Linked DNA regions of Homo sapiens: regions 2 and 3 are each linked to region 1. The links are contacts of gene promoters, found by promoter capture Hi-C in human tissues and cell types (Jung and others, 2019). All regions are on one chromosome and are shown on one strand. Each heading gives the region's core, a stretch centred on a gene start or on the middle of the fragment in contact. The rest is flanking DNA. Distances are from core to core; before and after follow the strand shown. Region 1 holds the start of HSBP1L1 (heat shock factor binding protein 1 like 1). Region 2 overlaps PARD6G (par-6 family cell polarity regulator gamma). Region 3 overlaps ADNP2 (ADNP homeobox 2).

Region 1 (4,192 bases), core at 1,693-4,192:
GCCCATGAGGACAGGGTGCCCAGCTTGAACCTGCACCCAGAGTCAGCCAGTCAACATCTGAAGATAACGGGTTCCACAGGGTGCCCACAAGCTCTCCAAAGTCCCAACGCCAGTCTGCCTTCACGGCTGTCCGAAGTGCTTTATCACTGGTGAGCTCAGTGCTGTCAAGAGCTCTGTGGCCCCTGCTCCGCCTGAGTAAGGGAGGAGCGGCAGCCAGGGAGCAGCCCCGCCCTGGAGACACCGAAAGCCCTTGGGTCTGCGCCTGCCCCCACCACGAGGGAGCCGTCCCCTGAAGCCATGAGCTTGATGCTGGGCTGTCCCTGGAGTAAAGCTTCCGGGAACTCCGTGCCTGCAGAGTAAGGGAAGAGGGGACGTTCTAGAACTTTCTGGAAGGGAGGAAGGAGGGCAGTCTGACTGGCTCCCTGCTCATTTAGCTGTCTGTGGTTAGGAAAGCTGCCTGTGGGCTGATGAGGAACCCTGTCGTGGCCCTGCCGTGGGGCACCACTGCCCATCTCCTCCCGCCTCCAGAGATGAGCGCCCTCTGAAGAGCTTGGAGGGCTGACGCCAGCCCGCTGTGTCTGCCTCCTCTCTACAGGCGTAATTTCCTTTTCCCCTAAGTTAGCTTGAGTGACTTCTGGTTCTTGACACTGAGGTGTGTTTCTGATGGAAACACCACCGGCTTGTACTCCTTGCCCCCCACGCCAGGCAGGCTTTCCTGGGTGCAGGCCGTCCACCCTGTACTGTGGCATCTTCTGGCCCTGCCTCCTCCTCCTCAGCAGCCACCCACACTGGCTTTCCCGAGAAGCCAGAAGCCGCCCGGCAGGATTCCTTAGGCCTGAATGGTCCTGGGAGTGGGCCGGGAGCCACAGCACAGCAGCCACTTTCCACCCACACCGCGTCTTTCTCAGCCGTCCACACTGGCCCCTACAACTAAGTTTGTATCTCAGCCTCTCTCAGAGACAGAAAAAAAGAGGAGGATGCTAAAAGCACACAAAAAGTGGCAAAATGGCCATGCTTTTAAAAAATAATTTTAACAGCTTCATTGAAATGTAATTCACATACCACAAAACCCACCCATTTAAAGGGCATAATTCAACAGTTTTGAGTATATTTACAGGGTTGTGAAACCTTCTTACGATCTAATTTTAGAACATTTTTGTCCCCCCACAAAGAAACCCCAGACCTCCTAAATCTCTCCGCACTCTCCCTCGTCCCTGCAGCCCCCAGCAACAGAAGTCAACTTTCTGTCTCCGTGGCCTTGCCTGTTCCAACTCTCCATGGACTTACCACTCAGGGTCTTCACGCCTGGCCTCTGCCACCCAGCGTTGTTCCGGAGGCCCGCCTGCTTCGTAGCGTGCGTCAGCGCCTCACTCCTTTGTGTGGCTGAGGAATATTCTATCATCTGCATTTTGTCACCTACTTATTGGGGGTGGACATTTGGGTGGTTTCCACCTTTTGAGCATTACTGATGCTGCAGTAGACTTGGTGCACTCGCGCTGTCGTTTCGGTATATGCCTAGGGGTGGCGCGGCTGGGCCCTGTGGAAACTGCTTCACTTCTGAGGACCCACCCGACTTTTTCACAGCACTGCAGCCTTTCACAGCCCACCGGCTGCGTGGGGGGGGCCACAATCCCCACACGCCTCTCGGACTTACGTTTGTCTCTCTGATTCTAGCCATGCTGGTGGGTTGCAGTGGGAGCTCATTGTGGTTTTGGTTTGTGTTTTCCTGATGACTGGTTGTAATGAGAAAAACCGAGAATCACATTTAAAACCTTACCCTAAAGTGGGAGTTGCTGAGAGACCAAAGAATGACTGGGCGGAGTCCAGCTTGGTGAGTAGGTGAGTTTATTAGGACTCACATGTGGGGCACTCGTGGGCAGCAGGACAACTCTAGAGATGAGCGTGCTTCTGTCCCTAAGCTGCTTTTGAGCTAATTTTCTGCCTCTTTGCGCCGTCTGTGTGATGGGCCTGCTCCCTGTGGTGGTTCTCACATCCCCTCCGGGCTGTTTGGGTTCTCAGGGACACCTGCTCCTCGCTGGGCACCGTGGCCTGGACTCACCGCCTGGCCTTTAGGGTTCAGGCCACAGACATCCGCCCTGAAGTAACCTGGCGGGAACCGCCACGCCACAGCGGTGGTGCTGGGTGGCTGTGTTTTATTTATCCGCACATGGAGACACCAGAGCTTCCAGGTGTGGTCACTGGGCTGTGCCCTAGGGATGCTGGGGTGACCAGACATAGCCCTGTTCCCACAGCGCTGCACAGGGGCACAGACATGGCAACAAGACTGGTAACCCTAAAACACCGTCCTGGGAGGTCACCCACAAGGTGACGAGCCACAACCCAGGTGTGAAAGAGGCCAGGGAAGGCCCGGCGTGGTGGCCCAGGCCTGCGGTCCCAGCACTTTGGGAGGCCGAGGCAGGAGGATCACTTGTGCCCAGGAATTCGAGACCAGCCTGGGCAACATAGTAAGATCCCGTCTCTACAAAAAATAAAAAAGATCAGCCGGACCTGGTGGCGCGCGCCCGTGGTCCCAGCTACTGGCCAGGCCGAGGCAGGAGGATCGCTTGGGCCCGGGAAGTCGAGGCTGCGGGGAGCCATAGTCGCCACTGCACCCCAGCCTGGGCCACAGAGCGAGCCCCCGTCTCTGAGAAACGCAGCAGGGGTGACCGAGGCCCATGCACTGCCCGTGCGGAGCGTTTTGGGGGTGTAGGTGGCCGGTGGCGCCCACGGGCCCTCTTGAGTAAGGCGGCTCCGCCCAGGCCGTCCCGGGGCCTCGGCTCGGCTCGGCTCGGGAAGCCGCAGAGCCTGGGGGCGCGGACCAGTCCTCCGAGGCGGCCGCTCGGTGACATTGCGTCCCTGCAGGTGCAGCGCCCGCCTCTCCGCTCCGGCCCCGCCTCCGCCCTGGAACGCAGCGCGCTCCGCCCGAGGCCTCCCGGCGGCCCATACGGGAATCGCGGAGCTTAGCTGTCGCCACCTCGCGCCGGGTCCGCGCGGCCCACGGGACCCCCCACTGACGCCCCCGGCCAGCGGTCCACATGGACGTGCGGGGCCCTGAAGCCCCCGGCGGGCGCGCGCTGCGGGACGCGGTGAGCCCCTCCCCGACTCCTGCTTCTCTCTGGATGGGGGCGCCCCTGCGGTTCTGGGGGGTTTTGAGGTCCTGGGGGGGGAGCCTGCGGTGCTGGGGGTGCCCTGCGGTCTTCGTGGGGCCCTGAGGTCCTGGGGGGCCTGCGATCCTGAGGACTCCTGTGGTCCTGAGGAGTCCTGAGTGCCTGGGAGGCCTGTGGTCCTGGGGGGGCCCCTGAAGACCTGGGGGACCCTGCGGTCCTGGGGGGGCCTGAGGTGCAGGGGGGAGCCCTGCTGTCCTGGGGGACCCTGCGATCCTCGGGGGGCCTGAGGTCCTGGGGGGAGCCCTGCAGTACTGGGGGGCATTGAGGTCGGGGTCAGTGGGGAAACAACTGGGCCAAAGGGTGCCCGAAAGGGGACCCACGAGTGTCGCAGCGCCCAGGGCTCCGGCCTCTTCCGGGAAATCCTCCCGCTCCCCAGGCCTTCCTACTTGCCAAAGAGTTCCAGGCCCACAAGAGGACTGGCTATGAGGAAGAGACCTGGAATCTGAAGGAATGTGTTGGGCGTTGTGCAAACCCTAACGTAAATTTCCTGACAAAGGTAGAAAGCCCTGGCATGGTTCAGAGGTGGGGCCTCCTCCTATGTCGACGGGATTCTAGATTCACACCATGGTACGTGGGGCTCCCTGGGATCTTGAACCCCCAGCTGGGAGAATTTTGTGCTTCTCAGCCTCACTGTTCTCATCTCACCCTGGACACGGTCGCAGGGTGAGGAGTAGATTACACCGTGAATGGTGTGGGACGTCAGTCTGTAAACTACAAAGCAGTATATAAACAGGAAACGCTTTCAGTAGCAATGGTGGTATTTCTGTGTGACCTGGTAAGTAATTTCATAAGAATTCTTGAGGAGCGCAGGGTCACGAGATTTTCTCCTGCATCCTCCTCTGCATGCTTTATGGCCTTGGCTCTGGGCCAAGGTGTGTGATCTCCTGCATTCATGGTGTGTGGTGTGAGGAGGGGGATGGGTCCCTGCCCCGTCTGCACGTGGCCCTCATGATTCCCGCGCTGCTTGTTGAAAAGACTTTCCTTTCCCTCTGAATCCAAAGGCCTTAGCACCTTTGTCAGAAGTC
Region 2 (4,192 bases), core at 1,087-3,586, 190 kb after region 1:
TGGCGTTTCGCCATCTTGGCCAGGCTGGTCTCGAACTCCTGACTTCAGGCAATCTGCCCGCCTTGGCCTCCCAAAGTGCTGGGAATACAGGTATGCACCACTGTGCCTGACCAGCAGGTGCTCTTTAAACAAGCTGTTCGAGGGGACGAGGGTTCACCCTCCGGTTTGTTTGAAACAGGAGGTCCTTGAGCTCACGCTGAGCAGCTTACCTTTCCAGAAATGGGCAAGCTGGAAATCAGCTAAGTAGGTTCATACTTTCAGTAGGAATGGTACACATTAAGTATCTTAGTGCATTTGGGAACTGGCCATTAGTGCAGCCTTACACCATTTTAATAAACTATTCAGACCGTGTGAGTTTTAGTGCTGCCATAAAAAACTTCATACTAGTGCCAACTTTTAAAATGCAAGGATCAAAAGTTGACCCTACCACACTTAGTTCATACTTGCATCCTTTAAAAACATTCCACAGAGGTGCAGGTAACTTACATGTCCTTCTGTTGGAAAATTTAGATTTTCGCTAATATAGATTTCACAACAATCATGGCATTTTTTAGATACTTTTGCACCTTGCCACAAAACTCTCACTCGCTGTGATCATTTTATGTGAAACCATAAAATATTAAATACCCTCACCAAATTGTGAATAAATTTGCCATATGATGTGGACTATCAGGTCAGGGAAACCCAAGCCTGAGGCCACACCCGGCTGGCAGCCAGGGGCACATGTGGCCTCTGCTTACACTTAAGCCTCGTATCTCATCCTGCTGAAAGCGGACATTAGTTTTGGAGAGTGTACCCAGTGTTGGCACTTGACTCCTGCCTCATCAGACTGTGGGGGTCAACTGTCCAGCTGCCGACAGTCCAGAGTTGCTGTGGGGACTCAGCAGGTGGCGAGTACTTGTGAAGCTCCTAGTAGGGTACCTGTGCTGCTTCCAGGATGCTGGTGCTCAATGTGATCACATCTGTAATTTGCTGAGTAACTGAATTTGTAATTGTAATTTGACTCTTGATGGCTGCCAGAACGACAGTGTTAATGAAAACCGTGCCAACCAGGGCACATTTAGGAAGGACTGTGTGCTGTATAAATATTCAGAAAAGCTTTTTCAAAAAGACTTCGAGAGAGGGTTCTGGACTGTCATCTGTCTATCTGATGAGCTTGGGCCCATTTTCTCATCTGCGTCCCTCAGAGAGTATGTGCGGATTCCGTGAAAGATGGTACATGATAAGCACTTGATAAATCTGTCATTCTCTTTGAGGGATTACTTTATCTCTGGTATTCTCTTCCACTTAGAACACAGGTGAAATATTCATGCATTTTGTTTACTCAAAAGTCAAAAAAGTTTTTATTCTCTGATATATAAAACCAAGAAAACTTTAATACATAATATGCATAGTTTTGTTTTTTTAAAAGGAGAAAGTGGCAGAAGTACAGACCTGTGTAGAAAAATACACCCAAGCAGCTGTTCTAAGCAGTAATTCCTAAAATTATGAATAGCACACAAATCTCAGTGAAAGCCTCATTTCTTAAAAAAAAACTCACATTTGCTTAACAACTTAAAATGTGATAAGAAATATAACCTTCCTTCTTGATAGCCGACCCAGTTATATAACAGACATTCAAGAATCAGCAATAACTTAGTAAAAGAACATTTCCTTTGTGAGGGTAACATTATTAGTTTTAGTTCCACAAAAACTGCTTCTGACTGCTGGGGCACTGAACGACATGCCCTTCATCAGAGAGCAAGTCCGGGGGGTGCGGATCCTCACCGGAGAGGTCATGGGGAAGCATCTTTGGTCTTCTCTTGCTTAGGAACAAAGGGCCAGCAATCCATTGCATACAAATAACATCAAACACAGGTGCAGGAATTCACAACTCCTCAGCAAAAGCTATTTCTTAAAAATAGAACTTGCTTTTCACTTAATATTCAGAAAAAATGAAAATGCTGAGATGCAGTTTTCCCTCTTAGCAGTTCCATGTTCACGAAGTCAGGACAGTTCTGCCACTGACCAGCAGGTGGTGCTGGACCACAAGGAGAAGCAGCGGGAGGTACGCAGCTCCGACAACCTAGAAAAATATTTCTTTACCTGTATCTGTATGAAAGATTTGGTCAGAGTTCTCAAAGTATAAATGTAACATTTTATTCAAGCAAAACACATTATATAAAATTTAATTGTATCAAATAGGAATTTTTAAAATTACTAAATATATAAACGTTGCTGGAAGATCAACATAAAGTGAGGATGAATTTAGTATTTGTTAAAAATCACTAAGTTCCACGTGACTTCTTATAGTTAAAAGTGAGAACTGCCAGTGACCATTCTAGAAATGAAAATTAGCATGTATTGTGACTTACTAAAAGAAACGTCTGTTTCAGAAAACAAAGATGAGAACTCACGTGCAAATGACTGCATTCTCAAAGACATTGCTGGACATGTGCGATGCTTATCCTTCATTTCTGCTGAAAACATTTCCGAAATCGCCCTCAGAGTCAGTCAACCCACAGGAAAAGGGTCATCTTAGAGGCAATAGAGGCTTACATCCCAAATGGGACTGCTGAGCCCAGTCCAGCAGAGCTGCTGCTTCCTACCCTGGATTTCCCCTTGAGGCTGAATGGGCCACCTATGTGGGTCACAAAAATAGCCCCTGGTCTGGTGCTGTGGCTCACGTCTATAATCCTAGCATTTTTGGAGGCTGAGGGGGGACCGTATCACCTGAGGTCAGGAGTTCAAGACCAGCCTGACCAACGTGGTGAAATCCCATCTCTACTAAAAATACAAAAATTAGCTGGGTATGGTGGCATGTGCCTGTCCCAGCTCCTTGGGAGGCTGAGGCAGGAGAATTGCTTGAACCCAGGAGGCGGAGGTTGCAGTGAGCTGAGATCCCTCCAGCTTGGATGACAGAACAAGACACTATGTCTCAAAACAAACAAAAAAAAGCCCCGGAACAATTCCACAGCTGCGGGTGCCATAAGTGTGCTGGTGGGAGCTCTCCTGTCCCAACCGAATTATGACTATGAACAGTGTGAAAATCTGGAATTCATCTCCATGGTTGTACATGGACAGGTTTGGGTGTATTTTTTTTTTTTCCCGAGACAGAGTCTTGCTCTGTCACCCAGGCTGGAGTGCAGTGGTGCGATCTCAGCTCACTGCAACCTCTGCCTCCCGGGTTCAAGCGATTCTCCTGCCTCAGCCTCCCAAGGTAGCTGGGATTACAGGCGCCTGCCACCACACCTGGCTAATTTTTATATTTTTAGTAGAGACAGGGTTTCACCATGTTGGCCATGCTGGTCTCGACCTCCTGACCTCGTGATCAGCCCACGTAGGCCTCCCAAAGTGCTGGGATTACAGACGTGAGCCACTGCACCTGGCTGCATTCGTTATTAAAAACCAGCCTCTTGTCACGTACATCAGCACAGTCGGCCTCGCCTGCAAGTCAGCAGAGAGCACAGCAAGAATGCTGAGATATGTTGCATGGGCCAACTTACTTAAAAACATGAATTTGACTATTTTAAAAAAGTAATTTTAAAGCTTCACTTTAAAAACAAAGTATTTGTAAAAATTTTAAAAAGCATTTTTTTGCACTTGGTCAGATCTTTTCTATCACTTTGCAAAGGCGCCAAGACCTGCACTCAGGCCTGGTATAGAGTGTCTCTACAGGCGTTCATTTTAAGTTCTGTGGCGAAATTCTATAAAAATAGGCAATACTTGTGTTTTTATATCCGGAAGTTGAAACAAAGAGCAGCGTTGTTTTTGTGGTCACAAAAACAACAAAAAATGAGCGGATGCAGTCTGCAGGTCCTGTCCCTGTCCTTACCGGGGAACTGGAGCTAGGATTTGGGGGCCTCTCGGGAGTCTAGAGCGTGACCGCGGGCCCGTGCTCCTCCACGCCGCCTGGCGGCAGCGCCAGGCTGTGACGGGGGTCGGCCCGCAGGGAGCTGAGCAGCCGCTGGAGGCCGCCGTCCAGGGCCAGGTCCCGCTGCAGCCGCTGCGCCAGGCCCGCGCCATTGACCCGGGAGAGGCTGCCTGCGGGCGCGCCCGGGGTCTGGGGGGGACGTGCAGGCTCCAGTGTGCCCTCGATGACGACGTCGTTGTCCTCATCGCTCTCCGCCTCGTCGGGGTGGAAGTTCTGCAGGACGCGCGGGGCGGGGGGACCCACGAAGCCCGCGGTGCCGTCCGAGGGCGGTCCCGAGCT
Region 3 (4,192 bases), core at 1,022-3,521, 170 kb after region 1:
TGCCCCTGGAAGCCTCACTCATTCCCCCCCTGCTGCTGGCCAATCCCACATGACTCTGGTCTCCAGCCCTCTGCCTGTGGGCCAGAACAGCCTCACCCTGCAGCCCCCAGCACCTCAGCCCGTCTTTCTTTCTCACGGGGTTCCACTTCATCAGTCTGTGAATCCTCCTGTGTTGCCCTTGAGTCAGCCAGTCGGACCTGTCAATAAGTCTGTTGGAACTAGTGTCCTCCCCATAAATCAGACTGTTCGCCCTGGGGTTTTACCCCTCACCCAGCCTGTGGGACCCATAAACAGACCTGTTGGGCCTGGTGTTCTTCCTGTGAGCCCCTCTGTCACCCCTGGGGTCCTGCAGGCTGTCTCGCCAGGGGTGCTTTCTGTGAGTCGGGCGGTCCCGTCTGGAGTCCTTCCTGCAGGCCAGATGACTCCTGCAGGCCAGATGACTCCTGCAGGGGTTATCCCTGGGCAAACAGCAACTTCTGGGGTTCTTCCTACTGGCCAGATGGTCCAGTCAGGAGTTCTCCCTGTGGGCCAGACAGCTCCGTCACGGGTTCTTCCCCCAGGCCAGACAGCCCCATTGAGGGTTATCTCTGCAGGCCAGGTGGTCCCGTCTGGGCTTCTTTCTCCCAACCAGACAGTCTCCTCCTCAGCTGTTGTGCCTGTAAACCAGGGTGTGAATTCTGGTGTTCTGCAGCTTAGTCAGCCTGTTGTGTCGGGAGTTCTTCCTGTGGGCCAGCCAGTGAGGCCTGGGGTCTTGCAACTCAACCAGACTGTGGGCACCAACATTCTGCCTGTGAATCAGCCAGTGAGACCTGGTGCTTCGCAGAACACCACCTTCCTGACATCAGGCTCTATTCTCAGACAGCTCATCCCTACAGGGAAACAAGTGAATGGGATTCCAACCTACACGCTGGCCCCCGTGTCTGTCACTCTGCCGGTTCCCCCTGGAGGCCTTGCGACTGTCGCTCCGCCCCAGATGCCCATCCAGCTCCTGCCGTCAGGTGCAGCTGCACCAATGGCCGGTTCCATGCCCGGCATGCCCTCTCCTCCAGTGCTGGTGAATGCTGCTCAGAGCGTGTTTGTTCAGGCCTCCTCCTCTGCAGCAGACACAAACCAGGTGCTCAAACAGGCCAAGCAGTGGAAGACCTGCCCTGTCTGCAACGAGCTCTTTCCGTCCAACGTCTACCAGGTCCACATGGAGGTAGCGCATAAGCACAGCGAGTCCAAGTCTGGTGAGAAACTTGAGCCTGAAAAACTGGCAGCGTGTGCACCATTTCTAAAGTGGATGAGAGAGAAAACGGTGCGATGTCTGTCTTGTAAGTGCTTGGTCTCTGAGGAAGAGCTTATACACCACTTGCTGATGCATGGCTTGGGGTGCTTGTTCTGTCCATGCACCTTCCATGATATCAAAGGTCTTTCAGAGCACAGCAGGAATAGGCACCTGGGGAAGAAGAAGTTGCCTATGGATTATAGCAACAGAGGTTTTCAATTAGATGTCGATGCCAATGGCAACCTGCTCTTTCCCCACCTTGATTTCATCACCATATTGCCAAAGGAGAAGCTTGGGGAGCGGGAAGTCTACTTGGCAATCCTGGCTGGGATACACTCCAAGTCACTGGTGCCTGTGTATGTGAAGGTGAGGCCTCAGGCTGAGGGCACCCCCGGGAGCACCGGCAAGCGAGTGTCCACCTGCCCCTTTTGCTTTGGCCCCTTTGTGACAACTGAGGCCTATGAGCTGCATTTGAAGGAGAGGCACCACATCATGCCCACAGTCCACACGGTCCTGAAGTCTCCCGCCTTCAAGTGCATCCACTGCTGTGGGGTCTACACGGGAAATATGACCCTGGCTGCCATCGCCGTCCATTTGGTGCGCTGCAGAAGTGCTCCCAAGGACAGCAGCTCAGACCTGCAGGCCCAGCCGGGTTTTATTCACAACAGTGAACTGCTTTTAGTCAGTGGTGAAGTGATGCATGATTCCAGTTTTTCTGTTAAGAGAAAGCTGCCTGACGGCCACTTAGGGGCCGAAGACCAGCGGCATGGGGAGGAGCAGCCTCCCATCCTAAATGCCGATGCAGCCCCGGGTCCAGAAAAGGTGACGAGTGTTGTGCCTTTTAAAAGACAAAGGAATGAAAGCAGAACAGAGGGACCTATTGTCAAGGACGAGGCTCTTCAGATTTTAGCATTAGATCCTAAAAAATATGAAGGCCGTTCTTATGAAGAAAAGAAGCAATTTCTTAAAGATTATTTCCATAAGAAACCATATCCTAGTAAAAAGGAAATAGAACTGTTGTCCTCACTCTTTTGGGTGTGGAAAATTGATGTGGCTTCATTTTTTGGAAAAAGAAGGTATATTTGCATGAAAGCAATAAAAAATCACAAGCCTTCTGTACTTTTAGGCTTTGATATGTCTGAACTTAAAAATGTGAAACATAGATTGAACTTTGAATATGAACCATAAAACTTGCAAAAAAAAAAAAAAGTAACTCTAAAGTAGTAGGTAGATTTTTTTCAGTTGAAATTTCACAGTGTTGTCCTCACTGTGTTGGTGAATCAACCTCAGTGGTCACTGTGCTGCTCTGCAGAGTTACTTCAGGTGCTGGAGAGACCCCTGTTACCAGGAAGCCAGTAGTTATTTCACATCTATTGTTTCCTGCAGTTTGATTTGTAACAGAACAGTTGTTTTCAGGTTTTTTTCTCTGTCATGTAAATGAAATCTTTTGATATTTCATGCACGCCTTGTTTTCCCACTAGTGTCAGTATCGTATGATAAGAAACTGAAATCTATAAATAATTTGCTTTTTCATTAAGGACATTTCAGCCTTTTTCAGAATACTTGATTTAACTGCGAGTGGAAGCATCGATCTCCTTCAGCTTTCCCTGTAGCAGCAGATGGTACAGTGAGTGTTCAGAGACGTGGGTACAAACCCTGTGATGTATGTATAAGGCTCCCTGAGGATGCACTGCATTAACTTACGCTGACTTCTTTGTAAGATCTTTGCTTATAGATTATAATTTAGATCTGTATTTTTTTAGGTTTATCCTAATAGCTGTTTTTTTTTTTAACCATAACTCATAGAAAATCAAATGTTTTTATTTGTTAAAAGTAGACTGAATTTGACATCTGGTATGCTGGTATGTAGCTCATACATCAAGAGTTATTTTACAAATAAATTTATTCTGTAGATGCAGAAATATTTTTCAGTGTAGATTTTCCCTTTTGATATGCTAAGTCATTTCTCCGTTCAGAGGTAAAACAATAAATTTTTAGTGCCTTTAGAATAAACATTGAAAGAATACACCCCAAAACTCTTCTCCTAACTTAACTACTCATAAACTAGTGAAAGGGAAGGTCTATGATACTCAGGAATAAGATTATTGCCCCTGAGTGTGAAAACTAACTTAAATTTCAGCATAGGGTTTCAGGGGACATGGCGAAGTTTACAGACTGAGATCTCAGTCTCCATGGTTGGTACAGTAAGTCTTTGACCACATTTTCTGAAGGTCATGTTTAGTGGAGAAACGGGCTTTTCTCTAGCTGGTTTAGGCTGGAAGCTGTGTCCGGGTCGATGGGATGGCATATTGTTAAAGAATCTCCATTGTCGTCACTGTCCTGTGGATGTTAAACCTCGTTTTTTTCCCCACACGATATTAAAACTTAAAGCACCAGAACCAGTCATGGAGACCAGCCAGTTTAGATGGTAAGTCATATTTCTGGTGGTACACAGCAGAGGAACCCCTTCACTCTATCTTTAGGTAGAAATATTTGGAGGATGTGACAGCCTCTGAGAAACATAATGTTACTATGTGGATTTTAAAAAATATAATACTTGCATGTAATTGCTATAATGTTCATATTTGAGGCAGTTGTGAAACTGGTTTATGATTGTTGGTGTACTCTGTTGTAAATTCAAAGAGAGCTTGTTGAACATTTTTTTTTTTTACCTATTGTTTTCAGAGTGTCTATTTTGAATTAAAATTTGTTACACCGCTGCAAATAGAACTGTTTAATTCTTTTAAAAGTTAAAACATTATTGTGAATCATAGGGATAACCTCTATATGGGAATAGATACCACATTTATTTTCTAAAAAAACCTTACCTGTCATTTGTGTGAAAATAAGAACATAACCCAAAAGGTCTAATTACTGGGGTCACAAAATAGGTGTAACTACAGATTCCTGATGATTCTATACTGG

What was found. The method cuts DNA at HindIII sites, captures the fragments that hold promoters and counts their contacts. A contact is called where the count stands out against the background at its distance.
Region 2: a fragment that was not itself captured here is called in contact with the fragment with the promoter of HSBP1L1 in region 1 in 4 of the 25 tissues and cell types used here (H1 embryonic stem cells, lymphoblastoid cells, mesendoderm cells and 1 more).
Region 3: a contact is called between a fragment that was not itself captured here and the fragment with the promoter of HSBP1L1 in region 1, in 1 of the 25 tissues and cell types used here (H1 embryonic stem cells).

What each region holds. Positions count from the first base shown.
Region 1 is chr18:79,961,701-79,965,892 of GRCh38, forward strand. It overlaps HSBP1L1 (heat shock factor binding protein 1 like 1), which reads left to right and starts at 2,943. Exons shown (of 4, transcript NM_001136180.2): 1 at 2,943-3,086. The coding sequence starts at 3,036. RefSeq lists an enhancer at 1,425-1,504 and a silencer at 2,600-3,169. The HindIII fragment of the contact is 12,330 bases long and covers 1-4,192 here.
Region 2 is chr18:80,155,918-80,160,109 of GRCh38, forward strand. It overlaps PARD6G (par-6 family cell polarity regulator gamma), which reads right to left. Exons shown (of 3, transcript NM_032510.4): 3 at 1,315-4,192. The coding sequence ends at 3,854. The region is part of intron 1 of PARD6G-AS1 (PARD6G antisense RNA 1); the gene reads left to right. Among named protein-coding and RNA genes, the nearest start is that of PARD6G-AS1, 10 kb to the left of the region's middle. RefSeq lists a silencer at 3,833-3,902. The HindIII fragment of the contact is 3,906 bases long and covers 384-4,192 here.
Region 3 is chr18:80,136,355-80,140,546 of GRCh38, forward strand. It overlaps ADNP2 (ADNP homeobox 2), which reads left to right. Exons shown (of 4, transcript NM_014913.4): 4 at 1-3,992. The coding sequence ends at 2,455. Among named protein-coding and RNA genes, the nearest start is that of PARD6G-AS1, 9.5 kb to the right of the region's middle. The HindIII fragment of the contact is 6,027 bases long and covers 1-4,192 here.